3 separate regions of the Homo sapiens genome follow, and all the other regions are linked to region 1. The links are contacts of gene promoters, found by promoter capture Hi-C in human tissues and cell types (Jung and others, 2019). All regions are on one chromosome and are shown on one strand. The core of a region is centred on a gene start or on the middle of the fragment in contact, and the rest is flanking DNA. Distances in the headings are between cores, read along the strand shown. Region 1 holds the start of SPINK14 (serine peptidase inhibitor Kazal type 14 (putative)). Region 2 overlaps LOC107986462 (a long non-coding RNA gene). Region 3 overlaps HTR4 (5-hydroxytryptamine receptor 4).

Region 1 (2,700 bases), core at 176-2,675:
ATATACATATATACACTCTGCAACACGTCAATGGATAATTTATATATATATACACATATATATATATTCATCCCAGTTAAAGAACAATTTCAAAGCATTCTCTCTCAGATTATGATGTAAAAGCCCACAAATCAATTTCAACTGCTGGCCAAGACCAGCTAAATTACTCACCAGAAGATAACACCAAATGTATCAAGATAAAGGACAAAAGTGAGAATACTGGGAAAGATTTGGCCATTTTTCCTCCTGGTGTGTCCTTGGAATGATGCTCTGAAATATTGTCTCAGGTTGTTGCCCTCTAATACAATCACTAAAGTAGAGACAATCAGGATTTAAGATGACTTTTACAATGAAGAGCCATCTCTACTCCACCCATTGTATCCTCAGTACTATGTATTTGGAAAGCCTATTCCATTCTTCTTCAGAAACAAATGTTTAAAAAGTTAAACCTTGAATAACTATCTTGATTAAAAGTATAGAGCTCAGTAACAGATCTTTGAATACTCAGAAGTAAATCATAGGTTACTCTGTGGGCATAAGTGTATTATTTTAGTGGGAAAACATTTTACATGTCATGAAAAAGCAACTCCTTACCTGAAGCTTCACCTAAATTTATCTTTTGAGGGGATGCAAAAAAAAAGATGGGGCTATTGAGGTCCCTAGACAACATGAACTTCTCAATAAGTGGAGTGGATCTGTACTTGCTCGTCAAGCAAAGAATACCTCTTTGGATTAAGACAAAGATTTCTGATGATTCAGGCATGCTTGTCTATACCAAGGATCTTCTGATGTTGAATCCCAGACTCTTTGAGGACATTCACAGGGAGAAAAATCATTATCTGCCATCTCACTGGGGTCCCACAGCTATTTTAATCCAGACACAGAAAGGGAAAAGTCAGAGAGCAAATCCTCCCTCGGGATGGACTTTCCTTGTAGCAACATTTCTGACCCCAGAGAATGGAAACTGCAGTTTCCAGGGCCTGACCAAGGACCACATTTAACTGTTCCTCCATTCCTAATTCTAGAAAAGTAGCCTGGTCTTCCATATGTTCTCTAGGCTTTTATCTCTGTCTGCAACACATGTCAATGGATAATTTATATAAACTCTGCTGATGTGCTCTGATGTGGCAGGTGTTACTTAAGACATTAAAATGTAGCCAGAGTATTCTACTCTCAGGATGATTGCAAGTTCTTTGTACACTATGAAAGGTTGCCTACCATGCCTACTCCTGGCACAATCTGGGACACCATGTTTTGCTAAACACACCCCCATCTCATCCTGATATTTTCCCTGGCTTCCTCCAGAAATGGAACAGGAACAGTACAAGTTCAGCTGCAGCCAGAAAACTAGAGCAAAACACAGAGGCCCACTCTCTCCATCCCTCATGTCACAGCTGACCCACCTCAGAAAGAAGAGAAAAGGAAGAGGAATATAATGTGCTCCTTCTAAGAAGCATGTATTAGGGCCCCAGGAGGAAATAGAGTAACTGCTGCGTAGGACAGAAAAGTCACTGAGGCATTGTGTGCTGGACTGAGCAGGCCCTGGAGATCCATCATTCAGATTGCATCAAACCTCAGCAGGGGAAGACCTGAGGAGGGTAAGAAGAGATCACTGGAAAGGGCAGCCATTAGCAGGCAATTCAAGAGAGGCAATAGCATGAGAAAACATCCCACAGTAGGAAAGAGCAAGCAGAAAGAATATAACATGTTCCACAACAATAATTAGTATCAAGACCAGGACCAGTATTAGGACCAGAATGAAAACATGTGTGGAAACATCTAATAAAGAAAAGGCTGGTACAGGAGGTTGCAGTGACAGATGAGATCCTTGGATACCATTTGCAGTAGATCCAGCCTTGTGCCTGTAGTAACCCAGAGCCTTTGCCATTTTAACAGGGAAGATATATTATTATAGCTTAAGGTCCTCCTATTATCTGAACTTCTGGCCTCTACCATTCCTTCTGTAAAAAGCTATTTTTCTTATACAAAGAAAATATATGCTCACTTAGAAAATTTATAAAATAGAAATATACAAAAAAGAGAGGGAGGCGGAGCAAGTAGAAACATACAAATAGAAATGGCCAAATAGAAATATGAAAAAAAAGAAACATACAAAATGAAATAAAATATATAAAACAAAAAATATACAAATGAAATAAAAAGGTGTGAAATCTTACAACTCAGAGGTACCTATTAAATATATATAAAATTATATTCTTCCAGTTTAAATATATATACATAATCACACAGGTACATATGTTTTATTACAATATTCAACTTTTATAATATATATTGTTTTTTCACTTAGAAATGCACTATTACATTTTCTTGATCTCTAAATATATTGAACATGAATTTAGATGCCTGGTGTCATATTCCATCACATATGTGGATTTTAATTATACTAATATTCTTTAATTGTTGCTCAATTAGGGTGATGCCAATTTTTTATTGTTATTAATAGTGCTAGCATAGGCAGATTTTTATTTACCTCAGTTAACTTGTCTTTTAATATTTTATTTTAATAAATGCCTGTAAATAAACCCATTGAAAACTTCCAGAAAGAACTTAGGTCACCTAGAATATGAGAGAGGTGGTGGTTTTCATCACATTTCTGGGCTCCATACTTGTAATTCTGGGCTCCATACTTACAAGAAATATTTTGAAAACAACCTGCTATCTTCCTGAGTAGATCATTTG
Region 2 (2,700 bases), core at 113-2,612, 300 kb before region 1:
GGGGCTGAAGATAAAATGGAAGAGACTCTGTATTGCCACCTTCTGTGGTTGCATATACCCTGTTGGGTGCTCTGAATGCTGGTCACTGTGGCCAGCCTGGACTGTGATTAATCTTCCAGACCGGTTTGCAGACCCAGACACCTATGCCAGTGGGAAACTGGTGAGTGGAACCCTATGTGAGTATCCTGAGAGTATAAGAAAGCATCACACGGACAGGGACACCTGGAAAACCTAGTACTGATCACCACACACCAGCAACTTTTTGTGTTTCCCTTTTTCTCATCAAAGGTAAACTACACTGAAACAATTCTACTGTAGTGCTAACATTTAGGGCATAAAAAATCCTTTTGAGAGTCTGATGAAATCCATGATCTTTTCCCTAAAAATCTGGACATATGCACACAATTTTTGCCACATTTCTAAGAAGTTCATTTATTCCCTGAAATAAAAATCCAACGTTAAATAACAATTAAAATCCCTGCTTTAATGTGAATCTGTATTGGTGGATACAACAATAGTGATTTATAATAAAGTCACTAGGTTCTCCCTATTTTCCTGCCTGTGGTTAGTGATGTATTTATTTAGAAGTCATAAGTACAGTCTTCTAGTGCCATTTTTGTGAGCACAATGACTCATTGTAAAAATAATATTTCTACGTATAACATCTTTCTTTCCTCCACATAGTTCTATGGAAATTATCTCATAAATTGTTCCAGGTTCCCTAGAAACTGGATTAAGGAATATATTATTGCCTTCCTTTACAAGGAAGGCATGATTCAAATGCAAAATACAGAAGAGTCTGGGAAAATGGCTGAGATATTGGGGAATGATTGAATTCAATCAGAAATCAGAATTATTTCACTCAACAGGGAGTTATGTATTATATGCCTGCTATGTGTCAGGCATTGTACTAGGCATGGGGTCGGCTAGCTCTCAGCCTGCTATCTAGCCCCCAAGTCTGTTCCAAGAGGAGAAACTATATTCAATTTGAAAATTGACTGGAGAAAGTACAGTATCCCTAACTCAGTAATAATATCCTACATTTTAACAGCATACACGGAGACAGTGTAGTGTGGGTTGACACAATTTTTGAAAGTAAGCAAAACTGGATTCAGATCCTGATTTCAGCACTTATTGAATGGCCTTAGTTAAATTCCTGAAGCTTTTGATCTTTAGTTTTCTTATCTGTAAAATAGAAATTACTTTTAGAGGCTGGGCCCACAGTGGCTCATGCCTGTAATCCCAGCACTTTGGGATGCTGAAAGGAGCAGATCATTTGAGGTCAGGAGTTCAAGACCAGCCTGGTCAACATGGTGAAACCCCGTCTCTACTAAAAATACAAAAATTAGCTGGTCATGGTGGTGGGTGCCTGTAATCCCAGCTACTTGGGAGGCTGAGGCAGGAAAATCGCTTGAATCTGGGAGGTGGATGTTGCAGTGAGCTGAGATTTTGCCACTGCACTCTAGCCTGGGCAGCAGAACGAGACTCCATCTCAAAAAAAAGAAATTACTTCTAGAGCAAGAGTTAGCAAACTACAGCTCTGTGGGCCAAGTTCAGCCATATGTGTGTTTTTTTGTGTGATCCTTGAGCTAAAAATGTTTTCTGCATTTGTAAAGGGGTATAAAAACAAATAACAACAATCAAACAGGAAAACAAGGAAAGCAAAAAAGAATATGCAACAAAGACTCTATGTGGCTTCAAGGCCTAAAATACTTACATCTAGCCCTTCACAGAAAAAGTTTGCTAACTCTAAAAAAGTTGGCAACTCCTATTCTATAGTCAGAATGCCTGCATTTGAATCCTTATGGCCTCTTACCGTCAGTATGATCTTGAGCAAATTGCCAAACTTCTGTATCTAATTTTCCTCATATGTCAAGTAGAGATGATAATAGCACTTATTTTACATGATGGGAAGCTGCATATGTTAATATGCTTAAAATGCTGAAAAAGGAGGCTTATATATAGTAAATATTTAAGAAATGTTAGCTATCTTTATTAATAGCACCGTTACCACTGTCATCAGTTATTCAAAAATACTTGTGAATATTAAATAAGATAGTGACCATCAAACAAATAGGACAGTGCCCTTCTCACAATAGGTTCTCAATAACTGTCAGCTATCATTGCTGTTGTCATCACCATCACCATCACCATTATCATCATTATAATTTTCAAAGCTCTTTCACGTACATCATCTCACTAGAAGCTCCCAACCACCCTGTTGTTGCTGTTGTGATCTCCCTCTGATACATGAGAAAATGAAGCTTGGAGAAATGAAGAGTTAGATACTGAGCCAGGAAGAGGCGGAATGTGGACTAGCGCCAGAGATTTTGCATTCTGGACCAATGTGTCCTCTTTCCACATCATACTGCCTCTCCATCAAAATATCTGAGGATCTGTTGTTTGTTAGTTTTCTCCAAATGATATACTTTGCATCCTAGGAGCCTGACAAGGCAGGCAAACATGACTATGTTCCTCCCTGGCATGGTTATGCAGACAGGAAGCTGGGATAATTGGATTCCAGCCATTTGGTCTCAGGACTGCATTTGTAACCAGCCAACTGCTGATGACCAAGCCTAGTGGATAAAGCTCTGACCAAACAAACACAACCCCCGTGTAGGAACTTATTGTTTATGCTGCAGAGCTGGCTTCAGAATGTGCCAGGACTCAGACTGCCACTACGACAAGCAGAGCTTTTGG
Region 3 (2,700 bases), core at 114-2,613, 320 kb before region 1:
TTCATCTGTAAAATGGACATAATATTAGAACCCATTTCATGGGGCTTTTGTTAAGGTTAAATTGATAACATCCGTTCAGGGATATGCCAGTTCCTATTACACAGAAAGCACTCAATCAATGGAAACTGCTACATTGTTATCATAAGTATTTGCATAGCATCATTCATATCTTGGTAAAACATCTTCCTCCAGGTCTCCAGTTATTTTCTCAGCTTCCTGATAAGAATTTCTTAAGAAATGAGTCAATAGAAATCTCCATGTTCTAAACACTTCTCCTGAAACAAGGGATGCAGGGCTCCTCTACTAGAAGAAAAGCCAGAAATAAATTAATCACACTGTTTATAAACAATTGTTTAAGCAACATGAGACAAGACTTGTTTCCTGGGTACATCATACCCTGTGCTGAACAGTTGGGGCTGTTATTTTGAATATGCCTTCTGGATTTTAAATTACCTGTAGGCATTTCTTTGACCCAACATAAAATATACTAGCCATGTCAAACAAGTTGAGCACATTCCGTGTGTGTTTGTTTTCCCCCTTTTGCTCCGTAGGTGCACCCACTGTCAGGGTGTCGAGGTTCTGTGTACCAGCCCTCAGAGATCAGCGCTCGCAGTAAAAAGGGATTATGCATGCCACCCTGCAGGGCAAGCCCCCAAACAACACTCAGCTCCAGAAATGCCCAACGTGGTTTATTTGAGGTCAAAGATAGAGGCAGTGTGATGTGGTGCCCTGGCCTTCAACCCTGGCTGCACATTACAGCCACCTGGGGCCTCTTAAGCAATACCTGAGCCTGAGCTCTGCTTGTAGAGATTCCATTTTAATTGGGTCTGGTTGGGAAGCAGAAATCCATTTATTTTAGGAGCTTGAGTGCGCAGCAGGGTTAACAACCGCTGGTGTCCTGGAAAGAGCAGGAGGCCTGTCTTCTAATCCCTTAGTGATCATCAGGAAGTCATTACCTCTCCCAACACCAATAAAATGAGGAAGTTGAATTAGATAATGCTTTAAGTTTAGATCTAGCTGCATGTCTTAGATCACTGAGATTGTGTGGGTTTAAACCAGTAGTTCTTTATCAGGAATGATCTTGTTTACCAGAGAACATTTGGCAATATCTGGTGGCATTTTTGGTTGTCACAACGTGGGAATACTATTGGTATATAGTGGGTGGAGGCCAGGGACGCTGCTAATCATCCGACAATGCATGGAACACCCCAGAGCAAAGAATTTCCTGGCCCCAGATTTCCAGATAGTGCCGAGGTTAAGAAACCCTGCTTCAAACTAGTCCTCTGAGCTTTACAACAGAGAACTTCCTTGCCACTGCCAAGGACAGCAGGAGAGGTCTTTCAACAGTACCAGGAGGTTCAGCCCCTGCACCATTTGGCTCCTTTTAATCCTCATACATTCTTAAGGCAAGACCAAAAAAAAAAAAATATATAGCGCCGTAGAAGGCGACTGATACGGTTTCTAGGAGGAAGGGTCCTGAACTTCTGTGGTTAGAGTACCGGCAGTAACCTTGCAGATAAGCCCTTTCCACTAGGCAGGCTCTAGGAGCTTGTTCTCTTACAGCATGTACTTGGCGAGGACACAGACCTTCCAATTTAGTCAGAGCAGCTGTTCAGGAAGAAATCTCCTCCAAAGCACACTGAGATACCCATTGGAAAACCATATTCCCATGTAAATGTGTGTTTAGTCCATGGTGCAATGTGCAGGTACCTGGTCCATGGAAATGATAAAAGCTTCATCTTATACCGGGAATTGACAAGCCGGAGTATGTTCAGAAGAGGGTAAATGCCATGATTTTCTCTACAGAATTTATGACATATAAATAACAGTAGAAGGAACTGGGGATGCTGAGCTTAGAGCAAAGAGGTTTTAGGTCATAATTATTGTTTTTATATATTTAAAGGGCTGTTAGAGGAAACAGGAATTCGACTTCTTCTGCATAATGTGAGGGAGAGAGGTAAGAAACAAAGGATTGAGGTTATAAGAACATGTATTTCAGCACAAAATGGAATGGATTGCCTTACTAGGGAGTTCCTAGTAAAGTTGAAGGAGACAATTGGATGACCATCAGTCAATTAAAAGTGTTGATTGACCGAATATCAGTAACTGGAAGAACTGAATGTTCATTAGTCAACATTTCTGGGGAAGAGGTGAGTAGATTGAATAACACGTTCTCAGCCCCTTTTTTTGTGATTCTGTGAGTTACAAAATCATAAGCATCGTCCCACAGTGCAGTTAAGTGTAGGGGACAGCAAACTCTATTTCAGCCAGTGTAACATTTTGTTTGGTTGAAGCTGGAGAATTTCTGGAAATATTACTAATGAGAAGACATATGTCAGAAATGATACTGTCAATTTTAGGGGGCCATTCTGCTTTCCTTTACTGAATCTTTGGCAATCTGGGGTTGGTAGAAAATGTAGACATTTCCAAAGGAGAAATATCTCCATAGATGCTTAGTGGTAAACAGCTAATTTGATGCCTGAGATTGCATTTGGAAAAAATATTGGATATATTTACTGATCAGGATATATATACATATATATATGTATATATATACACACACACATACATATATATGTATATGTATATTATATATTATATATATACATGTATATGTATATATACATTTGCATGACTTTCCAAAAGGGTGAGTTCTAGAATTGAACTGAAAGGCTATTCACACATTTTGGTGATTTTAGG

Evidence for each region. The method cuts DNA at HindIII sites, captures the fragments that hold promoters and counts their contacts. A contact is called where the count stands out against the background at its distance.
Region 2: a contact is called between a fragment that was not itself captured here and the fragment with the promoter of SPINK14 in region 1, in 1 of the 25 tissues and cell types used here (heart right ventricle).
Region 3: a contact is called between a fragment that was not itself captured here and the fragment with the promoter of SPINK14 in region 1, in 1 of the 25 tissues and cell types used here (spleen).

Annotation. Positions count from the first base shown.
Region 1 is chr5:148,167,271-148,169,970 of GRCh38, reverse strand. It overlaps SPINK14 (serine peptidase inhibitor Kazal type 14 (putative)), which reads right to left and starts at 1,425. Exons shown (of 5, transcript NM_001001325.2): 1 at 1,404-1,425; 2 at 172-310. The coding sequence starts at 238. The HindIII fragment of the contact is 5,009 bases long and covers 1-2,448 here.
Region 2 is chr5:148,469,501-148,472,200 of GRCh38, reverse strand. All of the region lies in intron 2 of LOC107986462 (a long non-coding RNA gene), which reads right to left. It also overlaps a transcript of HTR4 not described here. Among named protein-coding and RNA genes, the nearest start is that of FBXO38, 87 kb to the right of the region's middle. The HindIII fragment of the contact is 5,700 bases long and covers 1-2,700 here.
Region 3 is chr5:148,490,050-148,492,749 of GRCh38, reverse strand. All of the region lies in intron 6 of HTR4 (5-hydroxytryptamine receptor 4), which reads left to right. All of the region lies in intron 2 of LOC107986462 (a long non-coding RNA gene), which reads right to left. Among named protein-coding and RNA genes, the nearest start is that of FBXO38, 110 kb to the right of the region's middle. The HindIII fragment of the contact is 3,001 bases long and covers 1-2,700 here.